Linked DNA regions of Homo sapiens: regions 2 and 3 are each linked to region 1. The links are contacts of gene promoters, found by promoter capture Hi-C in human tissues and cell types (Jung and others, 2019). All regions are on one chromosome and are shown on one strand. The core of a region is centred on a gene start or on the middle of the fragment in contact, and the rest is flanking DNA. Distances in the headings are between cores, read along the strand shown.

Evidence for each region. Contacts are between HindIII fragments. The study calls those that stand out against the background at their distance.
Region 2: a contact is called between a fragment that was not itself captured here and the fragment with the promoter of HIF3A in region 1, in 1 of the 25 tissues and cell types used here (aorta).
Region 3: a contact is called between a fragment that was not itself captured here and the fragment with the promoter of HIF3A in region 1, in 5 of the 25 tissues and cell types used here (IMR-90 fibroblasts, dorsolateral prefrontal cortex, liver and 2 more).

Annotation. Positions count from the first base shown.
Region 1 is chr19:46,295,406-46,298,562 of GRCh38, forward strand. HIF3A (hypoxia inducible factor 3 subunit alpha) reads left to right here and starts at 1,637. Exons shown (of 15, transcript NM_152795.4): 1 at 1,637-1,697. The coding sequence starts at 1,672. The HindIII fragment of the contact is 13,814 bases long and covers 1-3,157 here.
Region 2 is chr19:46,542,333-46,545,489 of GRCh38, forward strand. It overlaps the pseudogene PPP5D1P. Among named protein-coding and RNA genes, the nearest start is that of PNMA8B, 48 kb to the left of the region's middle. The HindIII fragment of the contact is 3,360 bases long and covers 1-3,157 here.
Region 3 is chr19:46,129,463-46,132,619 of GRCh38, forward strand. It overlaps a transcript of IGFL2 not described here. Among named protein-coding and RNA genes, the nearest start is that of IGFL3, 6.4 kb to the left of the region's middle. The HindIII fragment of the contact is 6,419 bases long and covers 1-3,157 here.

The DNA of each region.
Region 1 (3,157 bases), core at 387-2,886:
AAATCCATTCAAACGAATCTAAGCACAAAGCAAATAAGGCAATAGTGAATGAAGCAATATTTGACAAAAGCAACAGCAAAAAAAAAAAAAAAAAAAAAAAAAAGCCCATTGTGGGTTTCATTTGAAAAATCCAAGAATTAAACTGGAGTTCAGGTATGGCTGGATCCAGGCACTCAAGTGCTGGTGTCAAAACTGCCTTTCACAATCGTTCATTTCTGCACAATCTCTTTTGCACTGAACCTCATCTCATAAAGCCTCTCCTCTCTTTGTGGCAGTGTGAGCCCCATCTGCTCCATCTGCCCAGCAATTCCAGCAGACATAGAAAATCCTCTTTCCTAATGGTTTCAGCAAATGTCTCAGGGTTGATTCTCATTGGGCTAAATTAGGTAACATGCCTTCCCTGAACCAATCACTGTGGCCAGGGAAGCAGACTCAACTGATTAGCCAGGTTTGGATCCTATGTCCATCCCTGGAGCTGGTGAAGGCAGAGCAGTGGCCAAGCCCTATTCAAATTAAATAGATGAAGAGGACAGAGAAGTGGTTTCCCAAAAGAAAACAGAGTGGGGAACTGGCGTGAGCCGGGGAGCCGTGTGGATTCCTGGAGGAAGAGTGTGCTAAGCTGTGGGAACAGCAAGTGCAAAGGCCCTAAGGTGAGCAACTTGCCTGGCAAGTTCAAGGTTCAACAAGGCCACTTCTGCTGTAGTATCCTCTTCCCTGCCAACCAAATCCAGAATAGTGGTCCAACACACACACACACACACACACACACACACACTCTGTTCCTTATCCAACTGTAATGCTTTCACCCTTGCTTGGTACCTTTGTACTTCTCCCTTCATAGTCGACTAGTTAAAAAAAAATACATTTCTCGGCTCTTTTTTGAAGTAGGTGTGATTGAGTTAAAACATATTTACTTGACATAAGCTTAATTATTCATCAATGGGAACCTGAAAAGGGAGTCAGAGAGGCCAAGAGGTTAGGGTGGAGTAGAGGGGGTAGGGAAGGTAAGCTGGGGTGCAGAGGGTGCAGACTGGAGGAATGGGGGCGAAGTGGGGTATGGGACTGGGGTGGCAGGGAGGGGCTGGGGAGAGAGAGAGAAGGGTAGGTGCCAGAGGGCCAAGGATTGTGGAACTGGGGTGGGGTTGGGAGTTGGGGGGTGGGGAGGAGATGTGGGGTACTCTGTGAATACCTTAGAAGGGATAGAGAAGGCAGGGCTAGGGGTTTGGAAGGGGTGGGATTGGAGGTCAGAGGGGCTCAACTGGGGTTAGGAAATGGAAAGGTGAGAAGAGGTGGGGGTTAGAGGCTGGGGACTGGGGTCCAGAGAGCAGAGTGAACTGAGTGGGTTCAGAAGAGTACTGGCGTTGGCACTTCAGAGGCTGGACTAGAGAAGGCGCGTTCAGCCGACGGTGCGGGATACACTGCCGAGGAAGTCCGCGGCGAGGGGCGTGGTTGGGGGGTGTGTATTACACGGTATCCCCCCCTTGCCTTTCCAAGTCTTTCCCTCTGGTTCCGCCTCCTTTTCAGGAGTGACATACCGTTGCCCAATCAGAGCCTCAGGCCTGGCGTGGCACAGCCAACCGCGCGGCGTGGGGAGGAGCTGGGGAGGGGGCTCGCAAGGCCGGGGAGGGGGCTAGGGGCCTCCGAGGGCTCCGGAGCGGCGACTGGCGAGCCATGGCGCTGGGGCTGCAGCGCGCAAGGTACTGAAGTTCGGGGGCAGGAGTTCTGGGAATTGGGGGGCTCTCCTCCTGGAGACCCCTGAGCTGGATTGTTGGGGGGGGTGGGGTTCGCGGGTGCGAGCCAAGAACGCCCCGGGGCGCGCAGTTGGAGGCACATCCCCACCGCACTCTCCACCCTTAGGGACTGCAGGGGTGGGGGATTCCCTACGTCTCTGGCTGCCCCGCCCCTCTGGCCAAGAGCGGCTTCGGGGTTCCCGATTTCTCGCTACCCAAGGCTCATTTACCCTCCTGGTTGGGGGTGGAACTTGGGATTCCTGATAAATTAGGGGTGATTGCATTTGAGCAGTCCCCAGGCTTCTGCGGGAGATATTCGCCCTCCACATATTGATCCCTCTGGCCTCTGAACCCCCCAAAATTGAGGGTATTCTTTGCCACCAGGTGCCTGGGATCCTAGGTGATATGGGATACCCCTAAATGGAGCCTTCCCACATATAGGGAGTCCCTTGGAATGGCATTCAGCTCCTGAGTTCAAGAGAGGAGAGATCTCCTCTAATAGTATGCTTCCTGACACAGTCTCCTAAACATTGGGTTTCCCTAGAAATGGGCAGAGGGGAGCCCCTTTCAGAAGCCGTCTGGGACCCTTCCCAAGAGACTTTTTGTATCCTTTCAAAAGCCAGAGTCACCCCCTTAAATAACAGGGAAACAAGCTGGACCCACTTCCCAAAGTCCAGCCCCTCATCTCACCCCTGCACCCCCATCCTGAGAGACAGGGGAGCCTCATCCAAGCTTTATTTTGGGGAGACTCCATGGCAGGGTGCTGTGAGCCTGCAGGCTGTGATGGGAACGCCCCCTGCCGCAGTACTCAGATGGGGTCATCCCGGGCAGAGGGTGGGTTTCTGGGTTCACTTGCCCAGCAGGTGCAGCTCTGCTGGAACACAGGGGAACCTGTGCCCTGGGGCCGCTGCCGGGGGGTTTTATCTGGCCATGTTCCCATGGGACCCTGGAAAATGTTCTAGGTCCTCAGCTTTCCCTGTCCAATGTGAGGCACCCAGTAAGCCTCACCCCCTTCCCTCCTCCCTGGCTTCTCAGGCCTGATTGGATCCATGCACACCCCATGTTTCTAACCGCCCCCATCCTCTCCCCTGTCCCCTACTCTATTCCAGGCCCTGGCTCTGGGCCTAACAAGGAACTCTATCCCACCCCTTTTGGGCCAGCTGTCGTTCCGCCCCTCTCAGCGCCCCCTCCTGGCTGGGTGGGGGCCCCTCTTGGCTGAGCTCGGGTGCCCCCCCTCCCCACCCAAGGCCGGCCCTTTCCTGTGGAGTCATCTCACCGCCGTGCGCACCCACTCGTAACTCGCACCCGGGTCCTGGCTGCACCGCATCCCCTCCTGCACCCCCTGGATGGCCCTTCAGCCAACGGGGGCCTGGGCGATGGTGAGTGGGCCCCCAACACCTCCTTTCCCCCTTCCCTTCCTCTAGCTG
Region 2 (3,157 bases), core at 412-2,911, 250 kb after region 1:
AGAGTGGCACATTGAGAACATACCCTAAACATTCATTCTGTTCTCCCGTGCAGCCAGGAGCTCCAGTTAATTTTCCTGTTACCAGCCTCATTTGTTAACTCTGTTCATTTGTGTCTTTCCTTGAAAGGATAATTTGAACAAAAGAGTCTAAGATTTTTTTAGAAATTGTTGCAATATCTGAAAAAAAAAAAAAAGAACCTCCCAAAGAAACCTGCATTCTGATTGGTTGTCTTCCTTGATTATTTGTTGCTATGGTGACCAGGAGGTTAAATAGCATCTCTGTATTTCCTAAAGAATAAATACTGGTTGGTTTTCTCTGGCAAATCAGAAAAGGATCATTTCTCTCCTTCCATGATCATGATGCAATAAAAGCCTAGGGCTCTTCTAGATTTATATTTTATCAAAGAAAGTGAGAGTCTTGTCTTATCCAAATTAACAGAAGCACTTAGTCCAGTGTCCAGTCGCTTGAGTGGCGGTGGCCACTCTCGGAAGGGCAATTACAAACTGTACTAATAGTAAGTCCAGCGCGCCATCTGGTGGCCAATTAGAGAATAGCATGACCGTATCTACTTAAACTAAAAGGCGACTCACCTCCCTTCTTGTCTGTTAAGGCTGCCCTAGCAAATTAATACAATAAGCTTGTTCCTGTTGGTCTTAGTCTGATTGAGAAAGAACCCTTGACTGCTTTGACCCATAGAATATGACAGATGTGACACTGTGCTGGGCATGGCGGCTCACGCCTGTAATTCCAACACCGAGAAGCAGAGGTGGGCGGATCGCTTGATCCCAAGACTGCAAGACCAACCTGGGCAACACAGAAAGACCCCAACTCTACTAAAAATAACTTTTTTGTTTTGTTGTGAGACGGAGTTTCGCTCTTGTCGCCCAGGCTGGAGTGCAATGGCGTGATCTCGGCTCACCACAGACTCCGCCTCCTGGGTTCAAGCGATTCTCCTGCCTCAGCCTCCCGAGTAGCTGGAATGACAGGGGTCCGCCACCGCACGTGGCTAATTTTGTATTTTTAGTAGAGACAGGGTATATCCATGTTGGTCAGGCTGGTCTTGAACTCCCGACTTCCACCCACCTCCGCCTCCCAAACTGTTGGGATTACAGGCGTGAGCCACCACTCCCGGCCAAAAATATAACTTTTAAAAATAGGCTGGCGTGGTGGCCCGCACCTGTAGTCCCAGCTACTCGGGAGGCTGAGGCAAGAGGATCCCTTGAGCCTAGGAGGTAGAGGCTGCGGTGAGCTATGATGGCGCCGCTGCACTCCAGCCTGGGTGACAGAACGAGACCCTGTCTAAACAAACAAACAAACAAACAAACAAGTGACACCGCCAGGCCTGGATCTACATTTTAAGGGAACCAGCAGATTCCGTCGTGATCTCTTTGGCTCCCAGGCTACTGTGTAAGAATTGCAACTCCCCAGCCGGGCGCGGTGGCTCACGCCTGTAATCCCAGCACTTTGGGAGGCCAAGGCGGCGGATCACGAGGTCAGGAGATCGTGACCATCCTGGCTAACACGGTGAAACCCCGTCTCTACTAAAAATACAAAAATTAGCCGGGCGTGGTGGCAGGCGCCTGCAGTCCCAGCTACTCGGGAGACTGAGGCAAGAGAATGGTGTGAACCCAGGAGGTGGAGCTTTCAGTGAGCCCAGATCGCGGCCACTGCACTCCAGCCTAGGCGACAGAGCGAAACTCCGTCTCAAATAAATAAATAAATAAATAATAAAAAAAGAATTGCAGCTCCCCTAAGAGCATGGAGCTGTGAGAAGGCCCAGGAGAATTGAAGCTTCCAGACATGGGAGTGAAGAAGCCATCTTGGAGGTGGGTCCTCCAGCCCTCATCACATGATGCCACGTGGAACAGAAATGAACATCCAGTCAAACCCTTTTCACATTCCTGACCCACAAAATCCTGAACAAGCTTGGGAATTAAGCTATTACTGTGCCATTTTTTGTTGTTGTTGTTTTTGTTTTTTCTTTTTGTTTTGTTTTGGGTTTTTTTTTTTTTTTTTTTTTTTGGTTTTCTGGGTTTTATTTGAGATAGAGTTCTGCTCTTGTTGCCCAGGCTGGAGTGCAATGGCACTATCTCGGCTCACTGCAACCTCCGCCTCCTGGGTTCAAGTGATTCTCCTGCCTCAGCCTCCTGAATAGCTGAGATTACAGGTGCCCACCACCACGCCCGGCTAATTTTTGTATTTTTAGTAGAGACAGTGTTTCGCCACGTTGGCCAGGCTGGTCTCAAACTCCTGACCTCAAGTGATCCGCCCACCTCGGCCTCCCAAAATGCTGGGATTACAGGCGTGAGCCACCGCCTGCGGCCATTGTGCCACTTTTATAGAGGAGGAGATTGAGGTTCAGAGGCCCAGTTGATGGTCCAAGATCACACACTGGGAAGTACTGGAACCAGGGTTATGAAATCCTGTCTGCTTGGCTGCAAAGCCTCTACTCTTCCACACTGCATTATTTAGGAAGACAGACAGGCTTTGGGCACGAGCGTGGGCCTCACTGAGGGGAGAGGGGCCTTCTGGCCTCAGTAATATCCCTGTTCCCTTCTCTGACTGTCACTTCCCCCTTAGAGACAGAGTTTCTGCAGAGTGGAGTCTCTTCTCACGCCTGGGAGAGTTTGTGCAGGAGACATGAGAGCTGAAGATCTGGCACCACCTTTGCCTTAAAGACAAAAGGTGACATTTGGGAAAAGCATGCCACTCTTCGAGTGGTACTTAAGGATCCATGGGCTGAATCTGCCTTTTTTTCCCCAACTGATTTGGCAAGGACCTTCAAATAAATCCAGTGGAGCTTCTTGGGGCAGCATGGCCCACTCTCAAGAGTTTAGCCTTTGAGTCATGTGTGGTGGCTCGTGCCTATAATCCCAGCACTTTGGGAGGCCGAGGCAGGCTCACTTGAGGTCAGGAGTTCAAGACCAACCTAGCCAACATGGTGAAACCCCATCTCTGCTAAAAATACAAAAATCAGCTGGGCATGGTGGCAGGCACCTGTAATCCCAGCTACTCAGGAGGCTGAGGGAGGAGAATCGCTTGAACCCAGGAGGCAGAGGTGGCAGTGAACTGAGATCGCACTACTGTACTCCAGCCTGGGCAACAGAGCAAGACTCTGTCTCAAAAAAAAAAAAAAAAAAAAGAGAGAGAGAGAGA
Region 3 (3,157 bases), core at 423-2,922, 170 kb before region 1:
GAAGCTGAGTTCTGACTCTCTGAAGTGGGCAATTAGTACTATAAATTTCCCTCTTACTCCTGCCTTAGCTGTGTTCCAGAGATTCTGGTATATTGTATCTTTGTTCTCATTGGTTTCAAATAGCTTCTTGATTTCTGCCTCAATTTCATTATTTACCCCAAAGTCATTCAGGGGCAGGTTATTCAATTTCCATGTAATTGTATGGTTTTGAGCAAATTCCTTAGTCTTGATTTCTAATTTGATTGTGCTATGGTCTGAGAGAGTGGTTGTTATGATTTCGGTTCTTTTGTGTTTGCTGAGGAGTGTTTCGTGTCTGATTATGTGGTCGATTTTTCAATGTGTGCCATGTGGTGGTGAGAAGAATGTATATTCTATTGCTTTTGTGTGGAGAGTTCTGCAGATGTCTATCAGGCCCATTTGATCCAGTGCTGAGTTCAGGTCCTGAATATCTTTGTTAATTTTCTGACCTGATGATCTGTCTAATACTGTCAGTGAGGTATTGAAGTTTCCCACTATTATTGTATGGATGTCTAGATCTCTTTGAAGGTCTCAAAGAGCTTGCTCTCTGAATCTGGGTGCTCTTGTGTTGGGTGCATATGTATTTAGGATAGTTAGGCCTTCTTGTTGAATTGAACCCTTTACTATTACATAATACCCTTCTTTGTCTTTTTTTATCTTTGTTGGTTTAAAGTCATCTGAGATTAGGATTGCAACTCCTGCTTTTTTCTGTTTTCCATTTGCTTGGTAGATTTTCCTCCATCCCTTTATTTTGAGCCTGTGGGTGTAATTGCATGTGAGATGGACTGCATGCAGTTTCAAGGGTTCAGGTTCACTGTTTATTTAAACCAAATACTACAGGGTATGATCTCCTGAACTAAGTGGGTGAAGTACACGTTTCCTATGAAACAGCCTTTTTCATTATCTCACAGGGCAATAACTTCTTTAGAGTTTTGATAAATATTTTAGTTCCCCCAGCAAGCATCAGATGATGAGTTAAAGAACATACCATGTTATTTAAAATATGGCATTTGTTTGTCTACATGCTGTTTATTGAGGTTCTTGGAAGCACCTTTTCATTATGTTTATAAACTGGTTACTTGCAAGTGGTTGCTTGCCAGTTTAAACTAGCTTAAGCTGTGGCAAAAAGAGGAATTTATTATCTTTGGTAGGTTCCAAATTAAAAAATAAAGTGAGCAAGAACTAAGATTAGAAGAAATTTATGAGCTTGGATGAAGGTTCCCAGTATTTCTCATTATTTTTATGTTTAATGATGTATAGTTCCTTTTCTGTAAATGATACACTATTCAGAATAATTGTTTTGGGTTGTTTGCTTCCTTCTTATTAATTTATAAATGCTCTTTTTATATGGGAGATACTAACCTTTTGTCTGTTATATGTTTTCCTCGCCTTTGTGTTTGTTTCTCAGTAATGCTGGTGGAGTCTTCTTTTTTGAGATATTTTAAATTTTTATGCAGCAGTGTCTTTTACCACTGCCCTACATCTTCTTTCCACTTTTTGGCTTCCGCTTACGTAAGGAGGCCATCTCCAACTTAAAGTTCTATGAATAGTTCTATATTTTTACTTTCTTTTTAGTCATTTTTATTCACATATAACTTTTTCTATAAGATGTGATGCTGAGTCTAAGTTAATTTTCTTGCTAATGAATGTCCTATTGAATCTGAAATTACTTGTTGACTAGTTTCATCCCTTTTCTTCTAATGTACAATGTTACTTTTCTTATATCTCAGTTTTCCATTATTAGCTTTATCTGTTGATGGACTCTGTTCAATTGATTTATGTGTAATTTTTCTAGGTAGTGTCTGGTTCATTTACAGTAGCTTTGTTTTAAATTTTAATAATAGACAAAAACTTCTCTCCTTATTACACTACATTAAGCTTTACTCGACAATATTTGTGCAGTCAGCTTTAAGAGCTCCCAAGTAATTTTCTAAACCCTCCTCCTAAAAAATAGCAAAATTTAAAAATGGGAATTCAGATGAAATTTTTTTGTAAACATTGTTTGGCTTTGGAAAGCATGAGCATTCTAATGTTTTAATACTTTCTGTCTCAGAGGTTTATCGACTTCTTTTTTTATTAGGTCTAGTTTGCTGTCAACACCCATTTAATTTTACGTAAACATGCTCTTCGAGGCTGAAGCGAATATGACTGATTTTCAGTGTGAAAATAAAACATAAAAACCCCTTCTTGGCTCATGCCTGTAATCGCAGCACTTTGGGTGGCTGAAGCAGGCAGATCACTTGAGGCCAGGAGTTTAAGACCAGCCTGGCTAATATGGTGAAACCCTGTCTCTACTAAAAATACAAAAGTTAGCCGGGCATGGTGGCCTATGCTTGTAGTCTCAGCTACTCGGGAGGCTGAAGTGGGAGAGTCGCTTGAACCCAGGAGGTGGAGGTTGCAGTGAGCCAATATTATGCTACTGCACTCCAGCCTGGGGAGCAGAGCGAGACTCCCTCTCAAACAACAACAACAAAAACAAAACTGTTCTTGGAGTTGTTTCTAAACAGAACTTGTCTCTAGTATTAACGTAGCAGAAATGTATATGATTTTACATTAGTATTAAAGATAAGAATATTCTTGGCCAACAGGAAATGGGTTAAAGCCTTGCAGAGGAGGGAAACAGTGAATTTTGTCATTCACTTAACCAGTTTTCACACACACACAGAGAAAGTCCAGAAGCCTGGCTGGTAAGAAATTCTTACCCTTTTGCTGGCATGCTACGGTTTTGGGTTCTCTTTTTCTGAGCAACTTTGGTGACCTTGCTCCCTGTGGCATAGCTGTGGGGGCCAAGCCACGTTACAAAAGAAAATGATCCCTTTCCATTTCATGGAACCATAGGCAAAAGTCTCTCCTTTTTACAAGAGGCCAACCAGTGGGTTGCATGGGAAAATAAGATATTGAATTAAATGCACAGAAAGAAAACAATTCATTGGGACATAAGTGACACAAACTTTGGTTCCACGTGCTGTCAGTTCTCTCCTTAAAAAGCCAGCACCCAAAGTTGATAGACTCACACACCCAAACAGACAGATGACAGAAAAGTCCACAGGCTTCCCCTCCTCACATGGTGTGGCAAAGAGAAAGTGAAGTGGTGAGGGGTTTTGAATAGAGTTACAGGATTGAGGGCCAGTATGACAGA